Linked DNA regions of Homo sapiens: all the other regions are linked to region 1. Evidence: promoter capture Hi-C in human tissues and cell types (Jung and others, 2019). All regions are on one chromosome and are shown on one strand. Each heading gives the region's core, a stretch centred on a gene start or on the middle of the fragment in contact. The rest is flanking DNA. Distances are from core to core; before and after follow the strand shown. Region 1 holds the start of UBE2J1 (ubiquitin conjugating enzyme E2 J1). Region 2 overlaps SLC35A1 (solute carrier family 35 member A1). Region 3 overlaps ORC3 (origin recognition complex subunit 3).

Region 1 (3,359 bases), core at 268-2,767:
CCTTGCTGTGGTAGGGCCTACTGCACAAATTAGGGGCTTTTGTAGAGCTGTGGCAGGAGAGGGTGTCAAGTGTCAGTTAATCTGAAGATTCAACACAATGAATGAATGAAGCAGCATTGGAGTTTGGTTTTGTTTGCATATCTCAGTCAGTCAGATTATCAGTTTACTATACAGAAAACAACATCAGGGAATGATTTAAAATATACCATCTAATTTTAGATATCCTTCACTTTTTTACTCCCAATTTCATCAAGAAACTCACAGATTTAGATTAACTTTAACAATAGAAAACAAATCAAATTTAAGAGTTTATGTCTTTATATAACAGAATAAAACTTGCCCAACCTGATTAACCCTTTCTATCCTCCCCACCTTCCCAATCCCTCCCTCCTTTCCTTTAGTAAGGTCCCTACTCCTTAAGTCTTTTGAACTCAGTCCTCTCTCGATCCCACACATTGGACAATGAAGCAGTAAGTGTGTCCTTTGAAGTTTAACCTTTCATATTTGTATGCTTTCCCTCACATTAAATGTAATTCCTTTTTTTGACAGCTTTTACATCTAAACAAACCAAAAAAAACAAAACTCCTGCAATGCCTAAAACATGTCGTGCACCTAACACACTACCCGAGAAAAAAATTGTTATGAATATCCAACTCTGGCCAGAGCCGTGGCTCACGCCTGTAACCCCAGCACTTTGGAAGGCCGAGGCGGGCGGATCGCTTGAGTCCAGGAGTTCGAGACGAGCCTGGCCAACACGGTGAAACCGTGTCTCTAACAAAAATACAAAAAATTAACCGGGCATGGTGGCACACACCTGTGGTCCCAGCCACGCTGGAGGCTGAGGTGGGAGGATCGCTTGGGCCCGGGAGGTAGAGGCTGCAGTGAGCCAAGATCGCGCCACTGCATCCCAGCCTGGGCGACAGAGCGGTGACACCGTCACACACACACACAAAATAAAAAATAAAAAAAATCCTATTCCATTTCCTTGTCACTGGCTTTCCCCCTCCTCACTTAACCCCCGCCCCTCGCAACAGCAACTGAATCTAAAAACAAAGCCTTTCCCAGACCCTGCGGGACCGCGCGCGGGCAGCCGGCTGCGGACAGCTTTGCAGCCGGAGCCCGGCGCCCCCTCCGAGCTCTCGAGGGCCCGGGGGTCCCGGACCTCGCCTACAGCGGGCAGGGCCGGGACGAGAGGACGAGGACGCCGCTCGCTCCTGCACCTCCCCAAGCCGGCTTCGCCGGGCGGGCGGCGGCTGGGTAGTGACCGACCGCCACGAAGCTACTGCCACGTCAGGGCAACTTCACAAATCCCGGACGAGGGCGGGTGACGCAAGCCGGGCGGCCGCGGCAGGGCTGGGCCTGCGACTACCCGAGGAGGCTGACCTCCAGCCCGGGCGCCCGGTTCAGCGCCGCCCCGGCCGGCGCCGGTGCCTGCCAGGCACTCAGGGAGGCGGGGGCGCAGTGGAGGAGGCGGCGCCATCGCGAAGCGAGCGCCTCGCCCGCACTCAGCCTTGCCACCCCGCCCGCAGTCCAGGCTGGACTGGGCGGCATTTGCCGAGGCTCCTCGGCCAGGCCCCGTCCGCCCGAGCCGCGCTGAGACCCGGGCAGCGGCCGCGTGGAGAGGAGGTGGCAGCGGCCCGGGAGGCCGGAGCCAAGCCAGCGACCCACCATGGAGACCCGCTACAACCTGAAGAGTCCGGGTGAGCAGGGCTGGGGCCCCTGGGCGAGGAGGGCGGAGTGACCCTGGACCCCGGGGTGGTCGCCGCCTCGGTCCCCTCGCGTCTGGCGCCACTCGCGGCTCAGCTCCTGGTTTCGCGCTCTACGCGAGACCGCCGCCTGCCCGGGAAGTACAGGCCGCAGGGCGAGGTGGCCGGGTGGACGTCCGCTGCCAATCCCCCGGCCGGCCAGCGCGCCCCGCAGCACCCAGCCTCTCCCTTTTCTCATCTTCGCCTGGTCCCGTAGAGCTGGGTCAGAAACTCATCCCTGAGAACAGGTGTAAAGGTGATGTCGGTGGGCGATAGTCATCAACCCCCTCGCTGTACCTGGTCGCTATTCCCTCCCTGTCGCTGCCACCGGACTTCTATTTACTTCTATTTACTGCCGGCTGATTTACTCACATTTGAGGAGTTGGTCGTTTAAATATCCTATTTGCAGCACTTGGGCGAATACAATTACAGACATAAAGGAAATGTTCTGTAACTAAACCAGTTAACTATAGAGCTAAAGCAAAACAAAACAACAACAAAAAAACACCTCGTTGAGCCCTGTTCTTGAGAGCTAACCTTGATTTTTGCCAGACTGGCTAATATGAAATGTATCTGTATTCAGTCGTAGCGATTCCTTTCCTGCATTTAATGATCCTGCTTTATATTTACACAAGCAGTCCCAGCAATCCTAGCCTCTAATTACTTTCTGGTGCATTATAAAGATAAGCAACTAGCTTTCTCAGCTTAATAAAACAGGCTTGAAATGAATCATTGGATCCTCTAAATGGTATTTTTTCTATCTGTACCTTGATACATTTTGTCAGGGGGAAGAAACTCCACAGTTAACTCTGCATGATAAACTCTAGGATATTAGTGATGATTTCACCAACTTTTGCTGTTGCTTAAAATTTCCTTCCAAAAAAAGCTGTTTCTCAGTAGGAATTAGCAAGACTAGCATCCTTGTGGAAAGAGTTGACACTGTGAATCTTTGGGTTTTTTGTAAGGTTTCAGAATATGCAAAAACCCCAGAAAAGCCTGAGGATATTGATTGGAGGGAGCTTTGTTAGCCTGAGTGCTGTCAGGCTAAGAAATGTCCTTAGGTGACCAAGTGTGTAGAACTGGTCATAATATTTTAGGAGCCACTGACTCCTTAAAAAAATCTGATGAAGACCTGGCACGGTGGCACACGCTTGTAATCCCAGCACTTTGGGAGGCTTGAGCCCAGGAGGTGGAGAGCAGCCTGGCCAACATGGTGAAACCCCGTCTCTACTAAAAACACAAAAATCAGCCGGGCATGGTGGTGGCGCACTCCTGTAGTTCCAGCCACTCGGGAGGCTGAGGCAGGAGGATGGCTTGACCCGGGGAGGAGGTTGCAGTGAGCCGAGATCGCGCCACTGCACTCCAGTGTGGGCGACAGAGCGAGACTCCATCTCAAAAAAAAAAAAAAAAAAAAAAAAAAAAAAGAGAATCCCGGGGTGGGGAGGGAGGAAGAAAAGACCAAAGAGAAAGAGGGAAAGAAAAGCTTAATTTTTAAGCTAGATGGTAAAATGATTGAATTATTTACATTGTGGTATATTTAACTGGAGCTGTTTGGGTAAAAATGTATGGTGGCTCCCTGGTCACACGGTTCCTTAGGACAGCAGAGGTGCTTAG
Region 2 (3,359 bases), core at 343-2,842, 1.9 Mb after region 1:
GGTCCGACCAGACCTAGAAGGAACTCCCTTCAGGACAGGACGATAGATGGTTCCTCCCGTGTGACTGAGGGAAAAAGCCACAACGGGTATTCAGTAAGTGATAGGGAAACTCTTATAGAAGTAGAGTTAGGAAAATTGCCTAATAGTTGGTAAGCTGTTTGCACTCAGCTAAGCCTTAAAGTACTTACAGAATCAGGAAGGAGTGGTCTATACCAATTCTAAGTTAATTTAAACTAAAGAAAGTCTTATTAATAGCAAAGGATAATTGAAATACCAAACTTACAAGGTTTTCCACAAAGGTAAAGTTTGCCAAAAGTTAGCAGTGTAATATGTATTATCCTAACTTCTAATCTTGTGGCCTTAGGCAGTCTAGTCCACAGACCTGAAGGAAGTTTGCTTTGGAAAAGAATGGTTATCATCTTGGGGGAAAAAAAAGGAGGGGGGGGAGAATTTATATAAAAAGAATGTTATATGGTAAATTATTATCCTAAAATAAATTAACTGGTTATTTAAAGAAAGCGATGTTTACAGGAAGTCAGAAAATTGAGGCCTGTCGAAGATTGCGAAAGTCATGAAAAATGCTATAAAAGGGAACTTATGCAAGAAATGTTGTATAATTTAAAAGTAATTAGGCCTCCTGAATGTAAAACTATTGAAGAAACAGTTTATGTGCAAGGTGTATAATGAAAGTAAAATATACTTTTGGTAAAAGGATAATAAGGAGGCATAGAATGTGGATTTTTACCTACATTAAAAGGTTAAAAAAAATTTTGTTTTGAGCGTTTAAGCAAGTTTTAAAATGTTAATTGTAAAGGAAATTCTGTGTGTAACCATATTGGCTAAAGTTAAAGGGGTATCATCCAGTTTTTCTGTGAACTGGACATTAAAATAAAAGCACAATGGGTTTTTCTTAAAACACTAAAAAACACTAAACTGCTCTTTAACAAATTTTATAAAAGGTTAAAAAGAGTCTATGGAAATCTTACCTTATGGTCAGACATTAAAATCGGATAAATATGTCTACAGGGTTTTATTAAAATTGAGTTTAATATTAATAATACACTAATATAAAGGTGAAATTTAGCTTATCTGGTATAATCATACAGGAAGCACTGTCAAATATAAAATGGTGTTTGGCTTTCTTTGGTCTAAAAACTAATAAAAATAGGTTTCTCAGGAAGTTTCTAAAGGAAGTTTCTCAGGAAGAAGGCACTAAGGACTATAAAGTCCACTGCTGGTGTCCCCCAATTTTTTTTTTTTTTTTTGAGTCAGAGTTTCGCTCTTGTTGCCCAGGCTAGAGTGCAATGGCGCGATCTCGGCTCACCACAACCTCCGCCTCCCAGGTTCAAGCGATTCTCCTGCCTCAGCCTCCCAAGTAGCTGGGATTACAGGCATGTGCCACCAAGCCTGGCTAATTTTGTATTTTTTAGTAGAGACAAGGTTTCTCCATGTTGGCCAGGCTGGTCTTGAAACTCCTGACCTCAGGTGATCCACCCGCCTCGGCCTCCCAAAGTGCTGGGATTACAGGCATGAGCCACCGCGCCCAGCCTGGTGTCCCCAAATTTAAAACAAAAGATCAGTTTCTCATAAATTATATACTTGGTTTATCTTCCACTTTCCTTTCCCTCAAAACTACAAGTCTTTTAGCACAGGTACCACCCCTAGAATTTCTGGTAAACGGGCACTAGCCTGGGGATCACACCCTCATCAAAGGGTAGAAAGAAGGAAAACTCAAGCCAGCCTGAGAAGGACCCTACCTTGTGCTGCTAACCACCAAGACTATGGTTTGTACCACAGAAGGGGGATGGACACATCACACCCGAGTCAAGCAAGCACCATTACCATCAGAATCATGGACCATTGTTCCTGGATCAAGCCTTACCAAATTAAAGCTAAGAAAAGCTTAGTCTATCTATCTTTTCCTTCCTTTCCTAACACAGTGCCTATATCCATTACTGTTCCTACCACTAGCAACTCTAACCCCACTTTAGAGCGTTTCTATGGTTTAGGAGCAGAAGTCACTGGAAAGGACCCTATAGGCTTCTTTAAGATGCGCTTTGTTCTCCCTGCTCTACCTCCTACAACTGCCCCTTTCACAAACCTACGAAATAAAACTATGCCTCGCCTCATGCCAAATGACAAAAGCAAGGTCTCAGTAGTAGAAATAGGAGACCTAAGGCAAACCATAGCTATTGACAGGGTATAAAGATGTAAATGCCTGGTTAAAATGTATTAAATATTCCATTCACACTTTAAACAAAAGTAACTGTTACACTTGTGTGCACGGTAGGCTAGAGGCCCAGGTTGTTACCTTTCCACTGGGATGGTCCTCAAATCAAGTGGACATGGAGTGCATGGTAGCTTTTTCAAGATTCTACTGCCTGGAATAACAAATTGTGCTAAGCTCTTTCTCTGCTATTTCCTGAAGTCCAACACCCTGCAGGTCAGCCCCCAAGGGCCATCCAGCCTCCATCTTCCAAAACCAATTTTACCTCGTGTCTCTAACGACACGGGGAAAAATTTGGCATTTCTTGGAGACTTAACAGGATGCAGTGAAGTTAGGCACTTCCAAGAGGTGACCCGTCAATCTGCCCTTATTCATCCCTGAGCGGATGTATGGTGGTATTATGGAGGACCTTTACTGGACACTCTGCCAAATAATTAGAGCAGTAGTTATGCTCTAGTTCAATTGGCTATCCCTTTTACTCTGGCATTTCATCAACCAGAGGAAGGAAAAATAAGACATCATAAAGTGAGAGAAGCTCCTTATAGGTCATTCAACTCTCATGTCTATTTAGATGCAATTGGAGTCCCACGGGGAATACCAGATCAATTTAAAGCCCGAAATCAAATAGCTGCAGGATTTGAGTCAATATTTTGGTGGGTCACAATTAATAAAAACATAGATTGGATAAACTACATCTATTATAACCAACAGCAATTTATGAACTACACTAGAGATGCTGTTAAAGGAATAGCTGAGCAATTAGGGACTAACTGCCAGATGGCTTGGGAAAATAGGATAGCCTTAGACATGATATTAGCAGAAAGAGGAGGAGTTTGCATCATGATTAAAACTGAATGTTGTGCCTTCATCCCAAACAACACTGCCCCTAATGGAAGTATAACAAAGGCATTGCAAGGTCTGACTGCTCTGTCCAATGAGTTAGCCAGCAGCTCAGGGGTAAATGACCCCTTTACAGGATGGCTAGAAAAGTGGTTCGGTAAATGGAAAGGAATAACAGCCTCAATTCTTACTTCCCTCACAGCTGTAATGGGTGTACTTATTCTTGTCGGGTGCTGTGTCATACCATGCATCTGTGGGTTGGTGCAGAGTAAGTGCTCATAGAAATGGCACT
Region 3 (3,359 bases), core at 631-3,130, 1.8 Mb after region 1:
CCCAACTTAGCCTCCTGAGTAGCTGGAATTACAAGTGCACACCACCATGCCCAGCTAGTTTTTGTAGCTTTTGTAGAGACAGGGTTTCACCAAGTTGCCCAGGCTGGATTATGGTTGTTTTTTTAAGGATATACAGGCTATGCTTGACCAATACTTCCTATATTTCATCAATACTCTTGTAAACTGGTGGAAAGGAAGATGAGATGCAACAAAAATGAGACTTAGGGTGTTACAGAAAATTATTAAAAAAAGTATTCACCTCATTTTCAGATTTCATCTGCTGCCATATCAACTGATAAGTTTCGAATCGAAGCTTACTGTCCTCAGGCTCATTTTTCCCTTTGTTAAAATAGTCCTCTAAAAACAGAAAGAAATAAGTCAGTTTCTTTTTTCATATAATAGTATAAGTTATAGATCTTACGTGCAAAGTTACACAGTAAGTGACAGAAGTGAAATTTTTTTTTTTTTTGATATGGAGTCTCACTCTGTCACCCAGGCTGGAGTGCAGTGGCATGATGTTGGCTCAGTGCGATCTCCGCCTCCCAGGTTCAAGTGATTCTCTCCTGCCTCAGCCTCCCGAGTGGCTGTGACTACAGGCACGTGCCACCACGCCCGCTCAATTTTGTATTTTTAGTAGAGATGGGGTTTCACCATGTTGGCCAGGCTGGTCTCAAACTCCTGACCTCAAGTGATCTGCCCACCTTGGCCTCCCAAAGTACTGGGATTACAAGTGTGAGCCACCTTGCCTGGCCTTAATTTTTTTTACATTCATCAAAAACATATATTTGGGGACAGGTAACATTCAATATCCTCTGTATTTCATTTTTTATAATCTTTTATTTTTACCATATTTATGGCATATTTAAGATTAAAAATGTCAATCTTTCTACTGTATTTCTATCATTTGCTTTTTAATTTCTAACAGTTTTTATTAAGTGGCTTTTTTGAGTTATATACATTTAATAATGTTTTCATTATTTGCTGTTATTCTACAACCTTGTATACTTTGTTTCATACATTTGCTTTGAACTCTCCTCTATTGAATGACTTACTACTACTATTCTTACATTTTTCCACTGACATAGTTTAGTCCAGTCTTTCATTTATTCTGTCTGTATATTTTTGTATCCTTTTTGAATGCTTTCTCCAAATGGTTAGCTATTTGTGAAAATACCATTTATTGCACTGGCTTTCAAACTTTTCAAACTATAATCCACATTAAGGAATACACTTTATATCATAACCTAACACATATACACATGAACAAAAACTAAAGTCACAAAAAACAACACTCACCCTTATTATGTAATAGCAAATGTTTTCTTTCCTGTTTTATACTCATAGTCCACTAAATTGATTTCATAACTCACACATAAATTATGACATTTGGTTTGAAAAACCCTCCTTTATTGTACAATCCATCCTTCTCCCGCTGATTTGACATGCCCTTATAGTCTAAATACTTATATATACTTTGAACTATGTTTGAACTTTTTATTTTGTTCTACTGAATCCAACCCTATTCTCCTACCAGTCTTGAACTGTTTTAATTATTATGGCTTTGTATGTTGTACATTTTATCAAATACATTTAGGTCTTCCTCCCACTGCCCCCAAACATTGTTATTCTCTTTCAAAAAAATTTAAGCCACTTCTTCAAATTAATTTTACAGTAATCCTGTCACTTCTCAAAACTAGTTGTACTGGTATTTGACTAGATAAAATCAAATCCATAGACTGATTTGGGGAAAAATCCCATCTTTAATATGTTAAAAAATCCCCAACCCCAATATCACAGGTCTCTTTTTTTAATCAAATATTTTAGATTCCTTATAGTTTTCTACTTTCCCTCATATTTCTTGTTGTTTACTGCTACGTATTTTATTGTAACAACTGGAGTGTTCACGTTAAATTTCTGCTGCTAATAATCTACCACCAAGTTTTAATGTTAACTGATAGTTTGGAATATAAATTCACTTCATGTTAAGGAACTTCTCTCCTAATCATAGTTAACTCAGAGTTTTTAGCAACTATTGATTTTTAATTTTATCAAAAGCCTTGGAATACATTGAAGTCATCGTACGGTAAAGTGGCAGACAAGGTTATAGAATTAAAATGCCAACAAAAAAAGAAAGCAAGGAGACACTATTATTACTATTACTATTATTTGAGACAGGGTCTCGCTCTGTTGCCCAGGCTGGAGTGAAGTGGTGAGATCTCAGCTTACTGCAACCTCCGCCTCCCAGGTCCAAGTGATTCTCCTGCCTCAGCCTCCCGAGTAGCTGGGACTACAGGCGCCCGCGACCACATCTGGCTAATTATATTTTTAGCAGAGACGGGGTTTCACCACATTGGCCAGGCTGGTCTTGAACACCTGACCTCAAGTGATCTGCCCACCTTGGCCTCCCAAAGTGCTGGTATTACAGGCGTACATCACCCCACCTAGCCAGAGGACACTATTATTAAGAGACAAAGCAGGCCAGCGTGGTGGCACATGCCTGTAATCCCAGCGCTTTGGGAGGCCAAGGTGGGCGGTTCATTAGCTCAGGACTTGGAGACCACCCTGGCCAACATGGTGAAACCCCATCTCTGCTAAAAATACAAAAATTAGCCGGGCGTGGTGGCATACACCTGTAGTCCCAGGTACTCAGGAGGCTGAGGCAGGAGAATCACCTGAACCTGGGAGGCAGAGGTTGCAGTGAGCTGAAATTGTGCCACTACACTCCAGCCTGGGCGACAGAGCAAAACCTTGCCTCAAAATAAATAAATAAATAAATAAATAAATAATAAAAAAAAGAGACAAAGCAGAACAACAAGGTAGCTTTAAAAAGAACAAAAATAGTCACTTTACATTAATAGGTAAAATCATAGCATAACATGAAAGTGGCAAATCAAGACACAATTTTTATGTGCAGAATAATGCCGCATCAAAATACACATGAAAAACCTCTTAGAAACTGGGAAACACAGCAGTAGGATACTTTAAACTGTTACCATGACTTCTCTCAGTCTGTTACAGATCAGGTAGGTAAATTTAAAAACTACACTGAAGAATATAAGCTCTCACTGTTGCCAGGTTTCTACCTGCCTCGGCTCCTATTCACAGTGCTATACTTCAGTGTGGGTATCTCCTACAGTGCCAGTGCTGCTGCCAGTCTCTCTCTCTCCAGTTCCTATCCAGTTGTTTTGCTGGATATGCAGTCATCCACAGAATACTGAGGAGAGGGAGAGTTACCAGTCTTAATTACGTGCCCAAGTGTCTTCAGTCAGGGGACAGATGGTGGGCAAAATGCAGAGCATCTTCCTACTTCTTCAGTCAATCTGTTTCAACAACTGAAGCCAGTGAAGGCAAATGTTAAA

The links. Contacts are between HindIII fragments. The study calls those that stand out against the background at their distance.
Region 2: a fragment that was not itself captured here is called in contact with the fragment with the promoter of UBE2J1 in region 1 in 1 of the 25 tissues and cell types used here (heart right ventricle).
Region 3: a contact is called between a fragment that was not itself captured here and the fragment with the promoter of UBE2J1 in region 1, in 1 of the 25 tissues and cell types used here (bladder).

Annotation. Positions count from the first base shown.
Region 1 is chr6:89,350,880-89,354,238 of GRCh38, reverse strand. It overlaps UBE2J1 (ubiquitin conjugating enzyme E2 J1), which reads left to right and starts at 1,517. Exons shown (of 8, transcript NM_016021.3): 1 at 1,517-1,700. The coding sequence starts at 1,670. RefSeq lists silencers at 1,056-1,155, 1,166-1,875, 1,906-1,965 and an enhancer at 1,262-2,211. The HindIII fragment of the contact is 5,428 bases long and covers 1-3,359 here.
Region 2 is chr6:87,479,324-87,482,682 of GRCh38, reverse strand. All of the region lies in intron 2 of SLC35A1 (solute carrier family 35 member A1), which reads right to left. Among named protein-coding and RNA genes, the nearest start is that of SLC35A1, 8.0 kb to the right of the region's middle. The HindIII fragment of the contact is 4,586 bases long and covers 1-3,359 here.
Region 3 is chr6:87,598,782-87,602,140 of GRCh38, reverse strand. It overlaps ORC3 (origin recognition complex subunit 3), which reads right to left. Exons shown (of 20, transcript NM_012381.4): 3 at 260-357. Among named protein-coding and RNA genes, the nearest start is that of ORC3, 10 kb to the right of the region's middle. The HindIII fragment of the contact is 6,974 bases long and covers 1-3,359 here.